2 separate regions of the Homo sapiens genome follow, and region 2 is linked to region 1. The links are contacts of gene promoters, found by promoter capture Hi-C in human tissues and cell types (Jung and others, 2019). All regions are on one chromosome and are shown on one strand. The core of a region is centred on a gene start or on the middle of the fragment in contact, and the rest is flanking DNA. Distances in the headings are between cores, read along the strand shown.

Region 1 (4,304 bases), core at 1,766-4,265:
GATTTAAGATTATTGAAATGGGCAAGATTCTCTGAGGGTGGAAGGAATAGAACTGCAAGTTTTAATATGAATTATTTGACTTGCAAATATATGCTATTTTATTCAAGTTAGCAGCTATACTTTTAAGCTAGTAGGTCAGGCTCTAGAAATTAAGGAATGCAGAAGGGGAATTTCCTGCAACAGAGTGGAAATCTGCTTAGGTCTGGCACCTATTGAAAGGGCCAGAGTGGAAGGCTGAAATCCAGCCCAAGTTCCACACTCAGCCACATGCCAGTGCAGAGCGGGGGCTTGGGAGCACTCTATAGGCTACAGGAACACCTCCTTAACCTAGTTGATCCTCCTACAATAGCTAGGGGTGGGAGGGTGGAGGGGCTTTTTCTAATTGTCCCACAGGGAACTGTTGCCCTCTTGTAAATCATCCAGAGGTGCACTTTTTTTTCTAGTTCTCTTTAAAACCAGGTAGTTGGCAGCTGCTGAGCTGGTTGCAGATACTCTTTTGAAATTCAGAGGGCATGAAACTAGTGTCTTCAAATCCATCCCTTGACCCTCCTGCTCCCCTACTGGAATGGCTAGAGAGAGCGGTAGTGCCAGGCGCAACCCTCACCTGAAGATAGGGCTGTGTCCCCCAATCCGGGCCTTGGACCAAGCGAGTGGGGAGGGCACTGCCAGGTAGTCCATGCCAGCCACCTCCTTCCGGGAACCTCCTGGAGGAGCCACAGACTCCTCTGCTCCCAAGGGCAGCTTCCCATTGCATGAGGCAGGCTCCTCAGACCGAGGCAGAGCCACTGCCTGCTCGCTGGAAGTCCGCCGTGTCTTCTGAGGGATGCTCTCAGCTGGTGGGGCCCCCACATAGTCAAAGGGACCAGGGGAGCCCGGGTCCCGGGCCAGAGGCAATGGGGGTGGTGGAGGTGGCTCAGACCCCTCTTCCCCCAGGCTGCCACGGCGGGACAGAGCTGGGGAGGCTGAAGATGGGGTTCCCGAGCTGGAATAGCGCCGCTTGCCACATGGAGAGGCAGGCCGCGGGGAGGCTGGGGTGGGCCCAGGAGCACTGAGGAGTAGCCAGCTATCCTCTGGCCCTCGGCCTCCGGGGCTTGGACCATACAGGCTCCAGGGATCTTCGGGGGTCCATGGCCGAGGGGAGGCCCGGGGCGAGGGCAGCGGGGAGCCCAGGCCAAAGCGGGAGGCCGCCTCATTTAGCTCAGACTCCACCTCGTCGCAGGCTGCATACAGGGCTGCCTCGTCAGAGGCATCGGAGAAGAAGCTCCACGAGGACAGGCTGCTGCTGCCAGGGCTTGGGCTGAAGAAGGCCCCCCCACCCTGGCCCCCTGCTTCTCTGTAGCCCCCAAAGCCTTCTGGTGGGGGGTAATCTCTAGGAGAGCCGTCCCCCCAGGCATCAGGGTTGTCCTCCAGCGCTGCTGGCGGCTCCGGCGTGGGAGAGATGGAGGTGATGCGGATGCTGGGACACTCGAGAACACGGCCACCCCCAGCACCCCCAGCACCCCCTCCTGGTCCTCCCAGCCTCACCGACCTGGCGGGCTGGCTCTCCCAGGTGCCAGGTGAGGGGGCTGGTCGCGGCGGTGGCGAATGCATGCCAGGCCGAGGGGGTGGAGGTCGGGGAATACCGATAGGTGCAGCGCCATAGGGAGGGGGCTCTCCCAAGGCCAGACGGCAGCATGGCGGGGCATCCTCTGAGTCCAGTTCTGTCAAAATGGGAAGAGGAGCAGAGGGAGAGGGGGAAAGAGAGAAGCAGGTGAGATGGCTATGTTCCTTGAGTGGCCAGGCCGCAAGTCCTTCTATGCTCCCTGCCCCTCAGCAAAGAGACCTTCTGAGCCACAAGACAAAAGCAGAGTTGGACCTGGGAAGATGGAGGAGATTGAAGCAGGCATGCCAGGCCTTTGCCCACTGGCCCCTGGATCCTAGGACCGAGGGTACCCGATCCAGTGGGTCTTAAGGTGAGAGAGGTGGGTCCAGAGGGGCTGGAGCTGGGGCTGGGCCTGGAGGCGTGTTTCTTGAGGCACTGGGCTGGACTGGGGGCGACTCACACATGAACCCAATTAGCAGCGGTTCCCAAACCCCCAAACGGCGCTGGCAGGAGCCCCAGTTGCCATCGCAACCGTGGCCAGAGGGGAGGGGGGCGTCAGGGCTGTGGTGACGAGGGGAGGTGGCTCCTCCCTCTCTCCTCGCCATCTAGGGGCGGAGGTGCAGCCGAGGGGGTGATGCGTGCTGGGCCCAGCCGGGGGAAGGGGGGCAGCGGGCAGCGCGGATTCGTGCGAGCGGCGGCCGCCGCCCCCGGCTCGGTCCCCGCCATCTGCCTCTCATTGCGGCCAGACGGGGGAGGGGGAGGGGCGCCCCAGCGAGGCCTGACAGCGCCCCCAGCCCCGGGCGTCCAGTCGGCCGGGCCAGAGCTCGGTCCGCCAGGGGCCAGCTCCAGCGCCAAACCTCCCCTTCCCCTGGCGGCGCCTGGTGCTGTTGGGGCCGTAGTTCCCGCCCGCCCCCCAGTTCAGTGACAGGCGGCCCAGCCGGGAGGCGGCGCACAGCCAACAGCACCCCCACCCCCACCCCAGTCACGACCTAAAAAGGAGAAAGTGGTGCCCGGGCCCCCAGCCTCACTTCCGCAGGCCAACGAGTCCCCCCGACTCCCTTCGACCTCTGACTCCCTCACCCCCCACCCTAGGCTCGCTGCCTTAAATTCCCCAGACTCAGGATCCCCGGCCCTCCTCTCACTGACCCCAAGACCCCTTCCCAGCCCAGCACTAACCTTCCCCCAATCCCCCCGCGCCCAGCGGGGGGGCCTCCTTTTCCTCCCCGAACACCAGCTTAAATTCCAGCTCCTCATCCTCGCAGCTGGCCGCCCCCATGGATCCGGCAGGAGCCCCCAGGTCCCGGCCTGGGTGGGAGGGGGGAGTTCAGGAGGCTGCTGTATCTTCACCCGGGTGGCTCCCTCCCTCCCTTTCTCTGAGAAGCCCCCTCCTCCGTCGCTGCCGCCTCCCTCCAGAAGCCCCCTCGTTATTATAGAAACTTTTCCAAACTTTTTTCCCCCAAACTTCTTCAAAGCGGTCCCCCCCCCAGCCTGTCCCTGATTGGCTGCCGGGGATGCTCCAGCCCCTCCTCCAGGGATGAGATGGGAAAACCACGCGCCCCTCGTCCTCCCCCACCCTCCCTCCCTCTGTCCTCTCTTCAGTCCCTCCCCCTCAAAAAAAAAAAAACTGAATTGGAAAACGGTCCTTCAAGAGTGATACTAATGTTGCCTATTGGTCCGCCGTTGTGACAATCATTTCCCGCAGAGAGCCCAGCCCCCACCTCCCCTAGTCTCAGTTCAAGGTTCTGGGTCCGAGAGCCTTAAAGGGGCCACATCCTGGGCCCCCAGGGTAGAGAGCCCACGGAAGACCCTTTTTTAAATTCTGAAGACTGTGTAGATAGCACCTAGCAAGGCAGAACCACTTCTCCTCCCCTTTCCCTCCAAGCCTGAGGCCAGGAGGGTCCTGGGGGCAGAGTGGCACCGAGTTGCTCGGAAGAGGAAAAGGCTATTCTTCCGCCTCCCTTGCCTGGGGCTACTCTGCCCGGGCCTTCTGGAAGTCTTTGCGCTGCCGAATCAGCGCCTCCATCAGCCATTCCTCCAGGACCCCCAAAGATGAAGAACGCTTAGCCAGCCTGGATGCCTCTGGGAGCAGTCCGAGCCAAAGAGGCTTTGAGAACTGTCCCTAGGCCCACAGCCCTTGATGGGCGTAGATCCAGGCCAGGCTTTGCCGCTGCCCTTGTCCCAGCCACCCAGAGGGGCCGTGAATTAGCCTCCACGGGAAGTTGGCAGCCTCCTCCCTAGAACTGTAGTCTGGAATGAATCTCTGACCCGATAGCATCCCACTCCGGCTCTTCTAAAAATCCTTGCCAGGTTTACTAGGGGCCTGAAACCTCCGGACCCTGTGGGTTCCCCTCCTCTTCCCCCTCCTTGGCCCCCCCGCCCCCAACAGGCTGGACACCTGTCACCTGGGCTGGAGGAGGAAGGAAGACCTGGACTGGAGTTTCCGGGAAAGTCAGGCTTGGAGAGGCCTGGGTTGTGTGAGAGGGAGTTAGATGGGAGATTCGTGACTCGGTGGGAGATACTGGCGAGGCTGGCGGGTAGGAGAGATGGGAGGGTGGTTATCATTTTCTCCCACACACACACAGTTTCAACCTCTCTTAGAGGCCGCGTCTCCAGTCTCTAAATCCCTCCGGTTCAGGGCCGCACCCCCAACGCCGCCCCATCCCAGCAACTAAACGGTTAAGCGACGGCCCCAGGTCAGACGTTTACAAACACTCAGAAGCCG
Region 2 (4,516 bases), core at 229-2,728, 50 kb before region 1:
GGTACCAGCTTGGAAGCCCAGAGGTGGGACTCTCCTTCCAGCCCTGCCATGAAGCAGCTATGGAGCCTTAAGCATATCACCCTCTGGGCCCTGGTCTCTTCATCTGTACAGTAAGAGCTTGGGGCAGATGGTCTGGAAAAGGTACTTTTCTTCAAATCTGCAAGTTTATCTGGGAAACATATAGCAGCCATACCCCATGACTGCCCCACACTCCTCATTCCCACAATTGAGACTGAAGCTAAACAAAGAACTGGACATCAGCTCCAGTTTGATTCGTTTATTGACAAATCAAATGAAAAAAATTCACTTAAAAGAAGGGTATGTGATCACAAATGTAGCTAACAGGGGGAACGCATACAGCACCAGGGAGGGAGAGTGAGGCTGGACATACCATTACAGAGAGGAGGAAGAGAAAGAATGGCGCGGGGGGCGGAGGAAAGAGAGCACCTGCCAAAAATCCCACACTTTCCACTTCTCAGCTATCACTCAATCATTTTTCTGGACAGGGTTAACAGCTAGAAATGGTTTAAGGGCAACATCCAGGTAGTTTGTCTGGAAGATCAGGGAGATGAAGAGTTGGAGAGAATGTGGGTGTAGCATTTTGAAGGATTCTCCAGCTTGAACCTGTTGCCAGAACCCTTTTCATGGTGAACTGGGAGTCAGGAAGCTTAATCCTGGTCTCAGCTCAGCCATGAACTTGCTGTGTGACTTTGGGTGAATCATTTTCCCTCTGTGATCCTCTTTCCTCTGCTGTAAAACAATCAAGTTGGCAAGTTCTCCACTGGCTCTAGCACTCTGCAATGCCAAGCGTTCTGGCAACCTGGGCTAGACCAGGAGACTGGCTCAGCTTCCGGAGAAATGAAACTACTAAGAAGGCCAGCCAGAGTGACGTGGCACTGGCCTTCACCTGGAGCCCACTTCCTTGGCAGCGGCAGCAATTCAGAGGGTGAGTGTACGCGCACACACCTGGAAGGAACTCACACTCACTGCAAGGGTGATCTCTGCAAAGAATGGCTGTGAGGGAGCCTGGGTTTTGCTCTACACAGAAGGCAGGTCCACAGGACTCGGGGGGTGATACAGATGAAGCAATCACACAATCTGTAGGGTCTGGGATGCAGGATACAGTGGAGGTAGAAGGAGCAGAGGACTGTAGGCTTTGGGATGGGGTTGGGAGGGGTTGGGAGGTAGAGCCATGCCAGCACTTCACCGTGTGCCACTCCTGTTGCAGACGCCCTGCCCCCTTAAAACAGAGGCCGGGGCCCCTGGGTCTAACAGAAGCAGCTCTTCAGATAGAGATGCCACACTTGGCATCAAGATCCTTGATTCCTGTGGGGTCAACACCATCAAAGCAGGGGTCAGGAATTGTCTCCATTGGCTGGAGTCAAATGAGGTAGGCCAACCCATTTCCCCCTTGCCCTTCCCATGCTGACAAGCTGGTGGCTTGTGGCTGGCCATCCTCCCACTCCAAGACACTGCCCTTGAGGCCTGGGAGGATGGCCAGCCCTGCCCTGAGAGCTGTGCAGGCCACACCTGGCTTGAGAAAGCTGACCGTGAGGCTAGGAGGCAGCGGCCTCCCCACAGCCTGCCCAGGCTTATGTCATCTGTGACAGCTCTAAGGGCAAAGGGTCCCCAAAAGAACAGGTTGGAGGGAGGAGCCCACATTTGGGGTTTCTGTATGGGAAAGGACTGTGGTTCCAATTCCAAGGTCAACAGCCACAGTTTCATGGCCAAGATAGATTCTTTCGTGAGTGTGTGTGCACACCACCACACACCTACATGTGAAGGGGAAAGAGGATACTTGGGGAGAAGACACTGAGCCTGGTATAGCCTAGAGGAGCACTCCATTTCCCAGTGTAAAACTGCCAGGGACCCATATCTGACAGCCTTTGGCAAATTCTCCAAGTACCCCAAACTGGGGATGTTTCCATGGGGATGCTGGTCCCTAGTTCAAGGCAATTCAGCAAAGCTTTATGAAGCAAGTTCTCTACAAAAGGCACAACTGAGGGCCCCCAGTGGACTGAGAGCACTGCTGGGACAGGGGGAGGCCTAGCAGCAGAAACCCACGGCCCTGGGGCAGGGGGCACCCCCGCTGCTCCCGCTCACTGCTCCAAGACCTTGAAGGACAGCGGGGTGCCACTCTTGGCAAAGGCCTTCATCAGACTGCTGGGATAGATGCACCCCAGCTTCTCTGGGGTTGGGAAGCCCCATATCCTATAGAGTGACAGGCTCAGCCGGTCCCCGATATAGAAGGGACCCACCCATTTGGCACTGCTGCCATTCCTGGGGAGGGACAGCAAAAGGACCTGGTCACCCACATTCCACTCCTTCTCCTGGCTCTCCCGCTTGAAACGCCTGTTCTCGGCCTTTTCACTCGCCTTGTCAGCCACCCTCCAGTGGAGCTCCAGCAGCTCCCCCACCAGCTGTAGCAGGAAGACGTCCATCTTGAGCCCTTCAATGTTTGCGCTGCTCATCTCCCACCACAGGGGCTCCGTGAGCCTTGACTCACCCCCGGTCAGGACCTTGAACGGTGTGGCATCAGTGGAGGAGGCCCTGAAGGCCAGGTGCAGCAAAGGCAGGGAGGCCGCCCACTTCTTCCCATGCAGGAAGATGAACTCCTTGAGGGCCCTCTTGAATTCCCAGTAGGCCCCTGAGCTCGTCAGGCAGGGGAACTGGAGGTCCCGACTCAGGGAGGCCACCTGGGCTCCCAGGGCCAGCCCACAGCTCACAAGGACGTGCCGGGCAAACTGGGGCCCCTGGGCTGCCTCCAGCCTCACAGGAACACCCCACCTTGCAAACACATGCTGAAGCAGCACCTGGGCCACAGCCGTGTGTGTGTAGGGCTTCAGGGGGAATGCCTCCACCCACCTGGTGTTTGGGTCAGCCACAATAAGTACATGCTTATGGCCCTCCTCACTTATGGTGACCGGGCCCACCACCTCGATCTGCAGGTTCGACCAGGGGGCGGTCGACCTGAGGGGCCATGGGGACTCAATAACCTTCAACTCGCTGCCTATGAGATTTCGGGGGATGCAGAACAAGCAGCTCCTGCAGTAATCTTTCACATGCTCCTGCATCCCAGGCCACCACCCCAGCAAACGCAACTTCTTGTAGGTCTCTTCGGGCCTCTGGTGGGCCCCCAAGGGAATGTCATGCACAGAGAAAATCAGATCCCTCCGGAGTTGCGTCGGGACTACCCAGACCCTGGGCTTCTTATCTCCCTTGAACATAAGCAGGCCACTCTCCTTGTCGAGGCTGAGTGAGTTAAAGGCAGAACTAAACGGTGAGGAGCCAGACAGTTTCTGCCCAGCCTGCAGCCTGGCAATGATGTCGGCCAGGGTGCTGTCACTCAGCTGTAATGCCAGCAAATTGGGCCTCTTGCCCATGGCATGGGGACTCACTGTAGGGGCTGGCACATCCTTTGGCAAACTCCACCACTGCCCACCCCCCTGGGCACCCTGCTTGGCCAGGGTGTCCACTGTCACAGCAAACAGAGAGCCCCGGTAGGAGGTTCGGTAGATAAACGGAAGGGATGAGAGGCCAGAGGTGAGGGATATAATGTAGGAGAGCAGGCTTGGGTGAGGGAGTGGAGCCCCATCAGAGGAGAGGAAGCCCCGAGCCCTCCAGAGGGGCAGGAGCTCCCACAGGAGGCTGAAGATCCAGTTGCAGTGAGTGAGGAAAACCACTGGGAGTGGGGACTGGCCAAAGCGCTCCAGGCCGCAGGCCACGGCTGCCAGGTGGGCATAGGTTGGCGTGTAAGGGGAGCAGGAGAAGGAAAGGGAGACAGGGGGGCTGGTGGGCGATAGAACATAGAGACCAAAGCCAGCACACCACTCATCCTCACGGTAGAAGCAGTAGCCCGACATGTGGATGCAGACGAACGTGGACAGGTCAGAGAAAGGCGGCAGAACCTGGAAGAAGCGAGGCATGGAGGCCGCGGGGGTGAGCAGGCGGTTCTCCCCCAGCAGGCCCTGGAGGAGGGCCAATTCCAGGGCCCTCTTGCCTTTGTCCTGAACCAAGAGGGACCATCGGATCAACCAAGCTTTGGAAACCCTGCGGCCCTCCCGCACCTCAGGGTCCGCAGTGGTCCGGGAGGCATAGGAAAGGTCCAGGACCACCGGGGTGTCTCCAATGCAGCGGGAAAAATGCTTGAGGGCCCAGGCCACAGCATAGGGGCTGTCACCCCCTGACTGGGGGCCCTGGCTCTCCTCATCAGGGAGGAGGGGTTTTGAGGTATAGGCTATGGGGTGCTTCCTCCCTGAGTGCTCCTGATGGAGGATGGCCGTCAGGGCCACGTGGCTCACGGTCACCTCCAGGCGGAAGGGCAGCTGGGAGTTGGGGGCCATCAGGCAGAGGGCAGACACCAGGGCTCGCTTCAGGGCCAGGAAGGCCTCCTCATGCTCCTGGTCCCACTGCCAGTCAGGCTTCTGCTTGAGGAGGCTGTGCAGGGGGCCCACTAGGGCTTCATAGTCAGGGATGGCATCCCTGTGGGAGTCCATGAAGCCCATGAAGAAGGAGA

What was found. Contacts are between HindIII fragments. The study calls those that stand out against the background at their distance.
Region 2: a contact is called between a fragment that was not itself captured here and the fragment with the promoter of NFATC4 in region 1, in 1 of the 25 tissues and cell types used here (adrenal gland).

Annotation. Positions count from the first base shown.
Region 1 is chr14:24,366,895-24,371,198 of GRCh38, reverse strand. NFATC4 (nuclear factor of activated T cells 4) reads right to left here and starts at 3,015. Exons shown (of 10, transcript NM_004554.5): 1 at 2,759-3,015; 2 at 605-1,700. The coding sequence starts at 2,858. LOC124903291 (a long non-coding RNA gene) reads left to right here and starts at 1,814. Exons shown (of 2, transcript XR_007064085.1): 1 at 1,814-1,952. RefSeq lists an enhancer at 371-1,214 and silencers at 2,177-2,556, 4,275-4,304. The HindIII fragment of the contact is 13,574 bases long and covers 1,335-4,304 here.
Region 2 is chr14:24,415,030-24,419,545 of GRCh38, reverse strand. It overlaps NYNRIN (NYN domain and retroviral integrase containing), which reads right to left. Exons shown (of 9, transcript NM_025081.3): 9 at 263-4,516. The coding sequence ends at 2,100. Among named protein-coding and RNA genes, the nearest start is that of CBLN3, 12 kb to the left of the region's middle. The HindIII fragment of the contact is 3,050 bases long and covers 1-3,003 here.